2 separate regions of the Homo sapiens genome follow, and region 1 is linked to region 2. The links are contacts of gene promoters, found by promoter capture Hi-C in blood cells and fetal thymus (Javierre and others, 2016). All regions are on one chromosome and are shown on one strand. The core of a region is centred on a gene start or on the middle of the fragment in contact, and the rest is flanking DNA. Distances in the headings are between cores, read along the strand shown. Region 1 has its middle 16 kb from the start of SLC1A7. Region 2 holds the start of SCP2 (sterol carrier protein 2).

The links. Contacts are between HindIII fragments. The CHiCAGO score rates a contact against its expected background, and 5 or more counts as called.
Region 1: a fragment that was not itself captured here is called in contact with the fragment with the promoter of SCP2 in region 2 in 1 of 17 cell types (endothelial precursors); the score reaches 5.1 in endothelial precursors.

The regions. Positions count from the first base shown.
Region 1 is chr1:53,155,489-53,161,729 of GRCh38, reverse strand. No RefSeq gene overlaps it. Among named protein-coding and RNA genes, the nearest start is that of SLC1A7, 16 kb to the right of the region's middle. The HindIII fragment of the contact is 1,457 bases long and covers 2,894-4,350 here.
Region 2 is chr1:52,923,370-52,929,681 of GRCh38, reverse strand. It overlaps SCP2 (sterol carrier protein 2), which reads right to left and starts at 2,406. Exons shown (of 16, transcript NM_002979.5): 1 at 2,217-2,406. The coding sequence starts at 2,285. It also overlaps the pseudogene LOC100652967. RefSeq lists enhancers at 1,984-2,073, 2,084-2,143, 1,796-2,311 and a silencer at 2,364-2,643. The HindIII fragment of the contact is 6,408 bases long and covers 1-4,408 here.

The DNA of each region.
Region 1 (6,241 bases), core at 2,373-4,872, 230 kb before region 2:
CTCCCAAGTAGCTGAGATTACAGTAGCACGCCACCACACCCAGCTAATTTTTGTATTTTTAGTAGAGACGGGGTTTCACCATATTGGTCAGGCTGGTCTCAAACTCCTGACCTCGTGATCCACCCACCTTGGCCTCCCAAAGTGCCAGGATTACAGGCATGAGCCACCGTGCCTGGTCACTTAAGTAGTTTTTTAAATTTTGGTTTGACTTTTAATTTTTAATATTGTTTTCTACCTAAAATTTAGTTCTTGAAAATCAGAATTTAGTAACTCATTCAAAATTTATTACAGGGCTGATCAGGGCCTATCAGAAGCAAATGACCAGGCCCCTTCCCTCAAGGAAAAGGCACCCCTTTTTCCTTTCCCCTCCACTCCTCTCTGGGTGGGTACCTGCAACCAGGATGCCATGGTTCCCTGTGGACCAGCCACAGGGAATGGAAATAGTCAGGTGGCTGGGGGAGCACCAGGCTCTCCCCATACTGGCTTTGTGGCCTCAGCTATGTGACCCCTGCCCTGTGGAATCCGAGTGAGCATGTACACAACCCCACTGTGGGAACAGGGAGGGGCCTAGGGCTAGGGGCCTTCTTGCCTTCATAGGACAATACTCTGTGGCCCTGGACCTTTGGCCCAGGCCAGGCTTCCCACACCCCATGTGACTGGCAGCCACGATGCCTGGGCCCCTGCCCTGCTCAGAAGTCATTCAGATGTTCTCATTCTGGTTCAGGGTCCAGCAGACCTCTTTGGCCTCATCTCCAATCTCTGGCCTGAGCTCTCCTCTTGGACTTGAGGGAGGGAACCAGCTTCTCTGCCTGTGGCCCTCAACCACCTTTTCTTCCTATAATCCACCTTATGCATCAACTTTGAAAATTAAAGAAGGTAACAGATACCAAAAGAAAGTTAGTTTTATCTATAATATTTGTATACATATATTTATGTAGTATCCACTCTGTGTCAGGCACAAAGAAAGTAGTATTTTTTTTTGAGCTACATGTTTTCTCCTATGATTTTTCAATATAAATATTAATATATATCACTATACAGGTGGTTCCCAACATAGGTTGGCTTGACTTAACCATTCTTTGACTTCATGATGGATTTTCTGAGCCACAACCCCATCATAAGTAGCTGTAAATAATTATGTATAAAGGAAGAAATGTTTTTTCCATCAATGGGGCCAAGAATCCAATATACAGAAGAGTGTATAACTTTTTAATCCCCCAAAAGAATAAATTATTCTAATAACTAAACATGGATTTACAAGTGAAATTCTGGAAGGCAGGCCCATTTGCAGATTTGTAAGTAGGTTGATGGTACATTTTCTATCTGCTGCTCAACGCTAAGCTCTGAGAAGGCAGAGGCCAAGTCCCCACAGTGTTCACAAATTACTCCTGGGAACAACTTACTAATGAAGGAATCATGGAGAAGGTGACCTAATCAAACACTTTTTTTTTTTTGGAGACGGAGTCTCGCTCTGTCGCCCAGGTTGGAGTGCAGTGGCGCGATCTTGGCTCGCTGCAAGCACCACCTCCCGAGTTCACGCCATTCTCCCGCCTCAGCCTCCCGAGTAGCTGGGATTACAGGTGCCTGCCACCATGCTCGGCTAATTTTGTTTTTGTATTTTTAGTAGAGACGGGGTTTCACCGTGTTAGCCAGGATGGTCTCAAACTTCTAACCTCAGGTGATCCGCCCACCTCGGCCTCCCAAAGTGCTGGGATTACAGGCGTGAGCCACTGTGCCCGGCCTCAGAATGGTAGATTTTAACATGTTTCAATCAATTGATAGATCAAGTAGACCAAAAAAAAAAAAAAATGAGCACAGATACAGGAGATTTGAACGAATGGATTCTCAAGTTTAATCTAATGGATATGCATATAACACTGGACTCATCTGCAAAATACACAGTCTTTCCAAGCACATGTGGAGCATTTATGAAAACTGAGTATCATAAAGCACGTCTATTCAAAGGATTACTATCATATATTCTCATTTTCTGACCACAATAGGGTTATCAGAAATCAACAAGGTGTATTAGTCCATTTTGTGCTGCTATAAAGGAATACCTTAGACTAGGCAATTTATAAAGAAAAAAGGTTTAATTGGCTCATGGATCTGCAGGCTATAAAAGCATGGCTCCAGCATCCACCCAGCTTCTGATGAAGCCTCAGGCAGCTGTTACTCCAGGCAGAAGGTGAGGGGGAGCAGGTGTGTCACATGGCAAGAAAGAGCACAAAAGAATGAGAAAGAAGGGAGGCACCAGACTCTTTCAAAAACCAACCAGCTCTTGAGTGAACTAACAGAGCAAAAACTCACTCTACTGCGAGGATGGCACCAAGCCATTCATGAGCGGCCCATCCCCATGATCCAGACTGCTCCCACTAGGCCCACCTCTAACACTCAGGATCACATTTCAAACATGAGATTTGGAGGGGACAACTATCCAAACCATAACACAAGGTTTTCCAATAATGGTGCTGGAACAATTGGTTATCCTCATAAAAAAGATGAGCTGATTGATTGATTGCTTGAGATGAGGTTTCACTCTGTCACCCACGCTGGAATGCAAGCATGATCATAGCTCACTATGACCTTGAACTCTTGAACTCTCCTGCTTCAGCCTCCTGAGTAGTTAGGACTGCCAGCATGCACAACCACACCAGGCTAAATTTTGAAAATTTTTTTGTAGAGATGGGGGTCTTACTATGTTGGCCAGGCTGGTCTCAAACTCCTGACTTCAAACCATCTTCCTGCCTCAACTCCCAAAGTGCTAGGATTATAGGTGTGAGCCATCACACCCAACCACAAAGGTGAATTTGGATCCTTAACTTATACAACACACAAAAATTAATTCAAAATGGATTGTAGACCTAAACTTAAGTGATAAAACTATAAAGCTTTTAGAAGAAAGCATAGGAGAAACTCTTCGTGATCTCCAGTTAAGCAGAGTTCTCAGATACAACATTAAAAGCATAACTCATAAATGAAAAAAATCAATAAATTGGAGTTAATAAAAATTACACACTTTTATACTTTCAAAGTCACTATTAAGTAAATGAGAAAGATAAGCGACAGGCTGGGAGTAAATATTTGCAAATCATAATTCTGATAAAGGTTTTTTATTTTATTTTAGTTTAGTTTTTTGAGACGGAATCTTGCTCTGTTGCCCAGGCTGAAGTGCAGTGGCATGGTCTTCGCTCACTGCAGCTTCTGCCTCCCAGGTTCAAGTGATTCTCCTGCCCCAGCGTCCTGAGTAGCTGGGATTAGATGCGCCTGCCACCACACCTGGCTAATTTTTGCATTTTCAGTACAGACGGGGTTTCACCATGTTGGCCAGGCTGGTCTCAAACTTCTAACCTCAGGTGATCCGCTGGTCTCGGCCTGCCAAAGTGTGGGATTACAGATGTGAACCACTGCGCCTGGCCACTGATAAAGATTTTAGCCAAGCATGGTGGCATGCACCTGTAGTCCCAGTTACTTGGAAGGCTGAGGCAGGAGGATTGCTTGAGCCCAGGAACTAATTTGAGGCCTCAGTGAACTATGATCATATGACTGGCATTCCAGCCTGCGTGACAGAGTGAGACTCTGTCTCCAAAAAACAAAAACACAAAACAAACAACAACAAAAAGGCTTTCATATCCAGAATATATGGAACTCTTACAACGCAGTAAGAAGAAGACAACCCAATTTTTTTTTTTTTGAGATGGAGTCTCGCTCTATCACCCAGGCTGGAGTGCAGTGGCGCGATCCCGACTCACTGCAACCTCTGCCTCCCGGGTTCAAGCGATTCTCCTGCCTCAGCCTCCTGAGTAGCTGGGACTACAGCTGCGTGCCTCCATGCCCAGCTAATTTTTTGTATTTTTATTAAAAATGGGGTTTCACCATGTTAGCCAGGATGGTCTCGATCTCCTGACCTCGTGATCCACCCACCTCGGCCTCCCAAAATGTTGGGATTACAAGGCATGAGCCACCACGCCCAGCCCCTAATTTTTAAAATAGGGAAGAGATTTGAGTAAACACTTCACTGAAGAAGATATATAAATGATTAATAAGCACATGAAAAGATGCTCAACATTATTAGTCATTAGTAATATGCAAATTAAAACCAAAATGAGATACCACTTCATGGCCATTAGGACAGCTGTAATGAAGAACACAGACAATAATACCTGTGGGCAACACTGTGGAGACATCAGAATCCTCATACATTGGTGGCAGGAAGGTAAAATGGTGCGGAAACTTTGGAAAACAGCTTGGCAGTTTCTTAAAAAGGTAAACATAAATGTATCCAGCAACCTAGCAATGGGACTCATAGGTAGCTACTCAAGATAAATGAAACATGTCTACAGAAAAGCTTTTGCATGAAGGTTCATAGCAGCATTATTCATAAAAGCCAAAATGTGAGTACAAATGTCCATCAATCAGTGAGTAGAAAAAAAAATGGGGTACATCCATACAATGTAGTACCTACCATTCAATGGTAAGAGGGAGTAACTACTGATCCATGCTGCAAACATGGATGAGCCTAGAACATATGCAGAGTAAAATGAGAAAAAAAAGAACCCAGATTGTATGACTGCATTTTTATAAAATGTCCAGAAGAGGCAAATCTATGGAGATGGAAAGCATATTAGTGATTGCCTGGTGTTGGAGATGGGAATGGGGATTGGCTAAAAGTGGGCATGAGGGGCTCTTGGGGATGTGGAAGTGTTCTAAAATGGGACTGTCATGATGATTGCACAACTCAGTAAACCTACTAAAAACGATTGAAGTGTGCACTTTGGGTAAATTATACAGTATGTAAATCATACCTCAATAAAGCTTGTTTATAAAAGGAACAAAAAGATAATTAGGAAAGCCTATGTTGGGAAGTTACGAAACATACATAGTTATACATAATGCATAAAAATAAAAAATTGAGCGGTGGCAAGCAGACAACTACATGTACTGGGTTTCCTGGTGGCCCAGAGTTGTGGCTTACAGAAGAGATGAACTATGGTCTGAGGATAATATGAATTGGAAAGACTTCTAGGAGAATGAGAGCCTCCTCGATGTCCCCCCAGAGATGGCTACCGTATTAGCTGTTCTCTCACTGCTATGAAGAAATACCTGAGACTGGGTAATTTACAAGGAAAAGATGTTTAATTGGCTCACAGTTCTGCAGGCTGTACAGGGAGCATGGCAGCATCTGCTTCTGGGGAGGCCTCAGGATCCACCTGCCTCGGCCTCCCAAAGTGCTGGGATTACAGGTGTGAGCCACCGTGCCGGGCCTATTTTTTCTTTTGTTACTAGAGGTGGGCTCTCTAAAATATCTTAGTTGCAATTTTTTTCCCACATGTAGACCCTCCTAATCCATGTTCATCTTTTTTTCTTTCTAAAATTATTAGTGACGGCGAATCTGTACAGGTCTGTAGCAACCTCAATTCTTGCGTCCTCAGAGGAAAGAATTTGACCGAGGGGCACGAGGCAGAGGGAGAGACTGAGGCAAGTTTTAGAGCAGGAGTGAAGGTTTATTAAAAAGCTTTAGGGCAGGAATGAAAGGAAGTAAAGTACACTTGGGAAAGAGCCACCTGGGCAACTTGAGTGATCAAGTGTGCCATTTCACCTTTGACTTGGGGTTGTACATGTTGGCATGCCTTGCGTCCCTTCTCCCCTGATTCTTCCCTTGGGCTGTCCGTGTGCACAGTGACCTGCCAGCCCTTGGGAGGGGAGTGTGCACAGTGTGTTCACTGGAGTTGTATGCATGCTCACTTGAGGCATTCTTCCCTTACCAGCCGAATGTCCCTGGAAAGTCATGTATCAGTTAAACTCACCATTTTGCCTCTTAGTGAGCATGCTTGAGCCCAGTTGCCCAACTCCTGAGATTAAGCAGCTGACCACCTGTTTCAGGTGTTTCTATCTACTGGGAGACGGCCTTTCCCTGGCACCAGCTGCAACCAATTATTATTTTAAACAGACAGTTAACAACCACCTGACCATCACCTGATGGTTGCCTGACATTTGTGGTGAGGTATAGGGAGCCCTCTCCTGCCCTGCTCATGCTTGACTAGCTACCTACTGTACCAAAATGATGGGCCAATTAACTTTTCAAGCTTTGAGAATGCAGCCTTGGAGAGCAGCTTTCTGTACTTATGTTCTGTAGTCTTCCACAGTATGTAATCATTTGCTTGTTACAGGAGTGTAATTTACAGGTTAGAGATCATTCCACTTAAACATTTGTAGTCTTTGCATCTCATAGTGTTACGGG
Region 2 (6,312 bases), core at 1,157-3,656:
CACTGCATTCCAGCCTGGGCGACAGAGCAAGAATCTGTGTCAAAAAATAAAATAAATAAAAATACAAAAAGTAGCTGGGCATGGTGGCACACACCTGTAATCCCACCTACTTGGGAGGCTGAGCAGAAGAATCACTTGAACCTGGGAGGCAGAGGTTGCAGTGAGCTGAGATCGCCCCACTGCACTCCAGACTGGGGGACAGAGTGAGACTCTGTCTCAAAAAATAAAAATAAAGTATTATGATAAATTATAACAGTAATATATGGTAGAAATGAGACCCATCTAGTAGTAAGTAGTGAGACCCTGTCTCTACAAAAAAAATTTTTTTTTAATTAGCCAGGTATGGTAGAATGCCTGTAGTCCTAGCTACTCGGTAGGATCGCTAGAGTCCAGGAGTTCAAGGCTGCAGTGAGCTATGATTGCACCACTGCCTTCCCATCTGGTTGACAGAGCAAAACTCCGTCTTCCAAAAAAAAAAAAAAAAGTGTTACAGTGTTGTCTAGTCAATATTTCTCCCTCCTCCATCAAACTCTGTCCCAAGGTGCAGAAGACCAGACCTATAGCAAAGTACACTGGCCAGATAGGCACATCATTAATGGCACTACCCAAACTCCTCACCACTTTCCTCTGGACTGTAACACCTCCCCGACCTCTACCTCCCAACTTGAGGAAAAAGGAATACATCTATTTCCCAAAGGTTTAGACAACTGTGCTTTTCCATACAGCACATATAATCAGGCATTCAGCAGCCAGAGGAAGGTTTGACTGCATTAATACCTTACTTCGAAAGATCCTACTGTCCACCTGTGTTAGAAGCCTCCCCTTCTGTGAAACACTAGGATGATGTCCTTCCGCTTCATAAGGTATTGGTCCACTTTTCCATTTCCATGGATATTTTTTGTTTTTGTTGAGACAAGGACTGACTCTATGGCCCAGGCTGGGGGTGCAGTTGCGTGATCTCAGCTCACTGCAACCTCCATCTCCCAGGCTCAAGCAATCCTCCCACCTCAGCCTCCCGAGTAGCTGGCGTGTGCTACCATGCCCGACTAATTTTCGTATTTTTAGTAGAGACGGGGTTTCACCATGTTGGCCAGGCTGGTCTCGAACTCTTGACCTCAGGTGATCCACCCGCCTTGGCCTCCCAAAGTGCTGGGATTACAGGCGTGAGCCACCGGCCCCGGCCTATTTACATGTTGGACTGAATTAGGTACGCTCAGCCCACTGGTAAAATAATAAACATTTTAGGGCTGTTTTCTCAGAAATAGAACTCTCCCTAGGAACTCTTTCACAAAGCATATCCATTTAGTATTGTTCAACTAACATTCACTGAGGGTCTTCAAGCATCAGGAACGTTCAGGGCGAGGGGCACAGCAGTGAATAAGCCAGGTACCCAGTCTAGAGGAGCTGCCATGCTAAGAGGGCGCGCAGACGCCTATGAGCTTTAGTACTGCCCGGTACTGCCGAGCACAGTAAGTGCAGGACAGAGGTAAGCACAGTGCAAGGCTCTAGGGGAAAGTCAGGAGGATCCGAGGCGTCCTGGAGAAGATCCGATCTGAACGGATCCTTTCAGGATGCACAAAAGTTAACAGGTGAAGATACACGGTACAAACAGAACAGAAGCAAAGCAACAGAGGCATCAGACAACTGCGTCCGGGGAGAAACGAAAGGCAGTTTGGCATTAAGGAGCATGCGGGCGATGAGGGGAAAACGGCCGTGGGAGCCTGCGGCGTCCGGGTCCCAAGCAGTCACTGGAGGGACAGAGGGAGGCCGGAATCTGCCACTCGGGCCGAGGCGCTGGGCATCAGGAGCGTTTCTCCTCGCCATCCACATCTGGAGCTGTCTCTGTGAGGGCTCCTGTGGGGGCTGTTCCTGGGAGGGCCGAGCAGGCGGCATTCGCGACCTGCCTCCCTCCGGGGCAAGCCAGCCCACACACCTCGGGACTCCGCTCAGAATCTAAAGAGGTGAGATCCTTGGATTATCTCGGGGCTGCTTCATGAACTCTGACCAGAAGAAAAGGGAAGGAGGAAGCAGAAGGCCGCAGGAACCAGCCCGAGACGCTATGACCCCAGAGATTCCGCAGAGTACAAGCCACCAAGTCGCCACGCCGATGACCCACGCGCGGAGCAGTCGAAGCTAGGAGACCGGAGGGACAGAGAAACCCAGGCACCGACCGCCCCCGAGCCTCAGAGGGCCAGCAGGGCCGCTGCTCGGTTTACCTTGGTCATGCCAACCCCCACCACGAACACCCGGCGCAGGGTCGCAGGCTCCCACGGGGAAGAGGACATGGCTGCACCAGTGCGGGACCGGGGCGGGCGCCGCGGACGACTGCCGGCACTGACAGGCGGAGACTGCACCAGAGCTCCCTGAAGCCCGAAGCCAGGGCCGCGGGCGGCAACACAGGCGCGTGAGAGTGCGCGTGCGTAGGGGCAGGAGGAGGGGGCGGGGTGGGGCGCGTCCTGTGGGGCGGGGAGCGTTCTCTAGCCCTTAGGCAGCCGAATCCCTAATTTGCGGACTTGGGCATGGGACTGAGTCAACCTGTCCCCATCTCTGATCCTGTGCTTAGGTTCTGTACGGTGAGCGGGAGTAGGCTTGCAGTGGGGCCTAAGACTGAGAGGAGGGGTTGGCCGGAAAGCGGACTCATGAAAGGTGACCCTGAGGAGAGCCGTTGGGGTTCGTGTTGGAATTGGCCTGTGTCCTGTTAGCGGTGGCAGTTGAGAGTGAATTCATGAATTTAAACTCACAGGACACCAAGAAAGCGGGGATGGGCAGGATCTCACACATGGATACAATGTCTAAATCAAAAAACCCAGGCTCCGTCACCAGCTGCGTGACCTTTTTAATCTTGTGAACAAAAGTTCTCCGAAAAGGAATTTGGAAGACAGAGACTTTATTCCAGCAAACCGGGGAGAAACAGCCTTCCATGTTTATTGGAGACCGGAGTCTCGCTCTGTCGCCCAGGCTGGAGTGCAATGCCGCGAACTCGGCTCACTGCAGCCTCCGCCTCCCAGGTTCAAGCAATCCTCCTGCCTCAGCCTCCCGAGTATCTGGGATTACAGGCGCGCGCCACCACGCCCCGCTAATTTTTGTATTTTTAGTAGAGATGGGGTTTCGCCATGTTGGCCAGGCTGGTCTGGAACTCCTGACCTTAGGTGATCTACCCACCTTGGCCTCCCAAAGTGCTGGGATTACAGGCGTGAGCCACCGCGCCCGGCTCCCCGGTTTATTTTATCTTATGTAAAAATGCAGATTCATTGAGCTAGATGAATGCATAAGTGACTATTTCTCTACCCCCCTCACATGTGAAGGTTGATCAAAGACTCAGAAGAATGCAACCGTTTGCCTCTTATCTACCCACATCTTTTTAAAATTTATTCATCTTTCCCCAATATCTGCCCCTTCCCCTATAAAAACTGAAGCCCTCAAAATCATCTTTGGAGAAAGGCACGGACCTGTCTCCAAAGATGATGCACGTCCTTAAACTTGGCAAAATTAACTTCTAAATTAATTGAGATCCGTTTCATATACTTTTCGGTTTGCAGTATCAGCATTTAGAAAGGCTCTCCTAGAAGATTCTAAGGATTGCTTCTTGGCCATTTGGCTAAGATCAAGTTTAGGAGATTCTAAGAAGCCCCCTCTGTGCTAAGTAAAGAACTACTGAGCTAGGACTAGACCAACTTAGTAAAATTGCTGCGCTCAGTGATGCACGCCTCCCATCTGCTCAGGAGGCTTCGGCAGAAAGATCACTTGAGCCTGGGAATTCAAGGCTACAAATGTGCTATGATTACACCTCTGAATAGCCACTGCACTCCAGCCTGGGCAACATACCAAGACCACGTCTCTAAAAAACCAAAACGAAACAAAAAAAAAAAAAAAAGAAAAACAAACACAAATCAGGGCACTGACATGTACAGTTGTTTCTTGAAACTGATGGACTGACAAGACAGCAATATGATTGGTGGATCAGACAAAGTTACCAACCTAATAGAACAACAAGTCCTAAGGTCAAGATTAATTGTTATGTAACAAATCCTGGCTGTCCACTGGATATTGCTTTCAAAATAAGAGTCCATAGAGGGCAGAGGGGATAGATAGTAATATAAAAGGTATTTGTTAATACCGAAAAGACTGAGAAAAAACACTTCCCTTTCCAATGTGAAGGACTAAATAATCCAAACTTTTCCCACTATAAAACACAGACTTTTCTAAGTCATTGGATGTGGGGCTCTGGGGTAGCCTGAGCTGTTTGTCCCACACCAAGATGCTTCAAAACATTATTAAAAATGTTTGGATCCCCATGAAGCCCTATTATAACCAAGTTTATCAGGAGATTTGAGTAGGAATGGGGTTAATGAGCCTCATCATTTATAAAATCAGGAGTACTGATAAAATAAGTAAAATATTGAAAGCTTCTCCACCTGCTTATGGTCATCACTAACCAGCTTCACTTAGCATGCACATGAAATGAAACATTAGTCGACCTGTGAATTTAAGCAAGCTATGTTAGAAAGGAACCTGGAAAATCACTGTACACTTATATAAGTACCACTTACTTTGTGGCATGAATAAGTATACCAAAAAAAAACACCCAGAAATGCCAGATAAAATACAATAAATATCATTTTAAGCTGGGTGTGGTGGTACGAGACTGTAATCCCATCTACTTGAGGAGCTGAGGCAGAAAGGCTGCTTGAGTCCAGGAGTTCAAGGCTGCAGTGAGCTACGATTATGCCTGTGAATAGCCACTGCACTCCAGCCTGGACAGCATAGTGAGACCTTTTCTGTTAATACAAAAAGACAAAAAGCAGCGAGGCACAGTGGCTCATGCCTGTAATCCCAGCACTTTGGGAGGCCAAAATGGGAGGATTGATTGAGCCCAAGAATTCAAGACCAACCTGGGCAACATAGCTCCCTATCTCTAAAAAAAAAGAAGAAAAAACAAGAAAAATCTTTTTAAATGGGTGGATGCCAGGCATGGGGGCTCACACCTGTAATCCCAGCACTTTGGGAGGCTGAGGTGGGAGGATCACTTGAGGCCAGGTGTTTGAGACCAGCCTGGCAACATAGGGAGACCTCTGTCTCTACAAAAAATTTAACAATGAGCCAAGTGTGGTGGCCCACTCCTGTAGTCCCAGCTACTCGGAAGGCTGAGACGGGAGGATCCCCTGAGCCCAGGAGTCTGAGGTTGTAGTGAACTGACTGCACCACTGTACTCCAATGTGGGCAACAGAGTGAGACCCTGTCTCAATAAAATAGAATACAATAAATGCATGGAATATGGAGGAGGGAAGGTTTTTCTTTTAATCTTATACCCAATTATAGTTTGTATGTTTTGTTTTTGCTTCTTTTTTTTTTTTAAGACAGAATCTCACTCTGTTGCCCAGGTTGGAGTGCAGTGGTGTGATCTCAGCTCACTACAACCTCCACCTCCTGGGTTCAAGCGATTCTTGCACCTCAGCCTCCTGAGTAGCTGGGATTACAGCTGCCCACAACCACGCCTGGCTAATTTTTGTATTTTTAGTAGAGACAGGGTTTCACCATGTTGGCCAGGCTGGTCTTGAACTCCTGACCTCAGGTGACCCACCCACCTCAGCCTCCTAAAGTGCTGGGATTACAGGCATGAGCCACCGGGCCTGGCTAGTTTGTATGTTTTGATTTTGTGTATATATTAGTTTTATTTTTGCTAAGGCATGTTTTTAATTTTTGTTATTGTGCTTTGTTTTCATTTTCATTATTTATTTTGAGTAAGTTATACTTAAAACAAAAATCAAGATTCAAAAAGTATAAAAGGGGCCAGGCATGGTGGTTCACACCTGTAATCCCAGCACTTTGGAAGGCCAAGGTGGACAAATCGCCTGAGCTCAGGAGTTCGAGACCAACCTTGGCAACATGGCAAAACCCCGTCTCTACAAGAAATACAAAAATTAGCCAATGTTGTGGCATGTACCTGTGGTCCCAGCTACTCAGGAGGGTGAGGTGGAAGGATCACCTGAGCCCGGGAGGCAGAAGCTGCAGTGAGCCAAGATACTGCCACTGCACTCCAATCTGGGCAACAACAACATCCTGTGTCCAAAAACGTATAACAGGTCAAACCGTAAAACTTGTCTCTCTTACCCTTATTCCCAGCCTCTCGGTTCTTCTTCCCTATCCTTCCAAAGATGTTTTATGTAAATACAATCAAATATACACATGCATACTCTTATCCCCCTTGTTAACACAAATTTTTGTTTTCTTTATTATTTCTTTCAATAGAGGTGGGGTTTTGCTATGTTGGCTAGGTTGGTCTTGAACTCCTGGCCTCAAGCAATCCTCCTG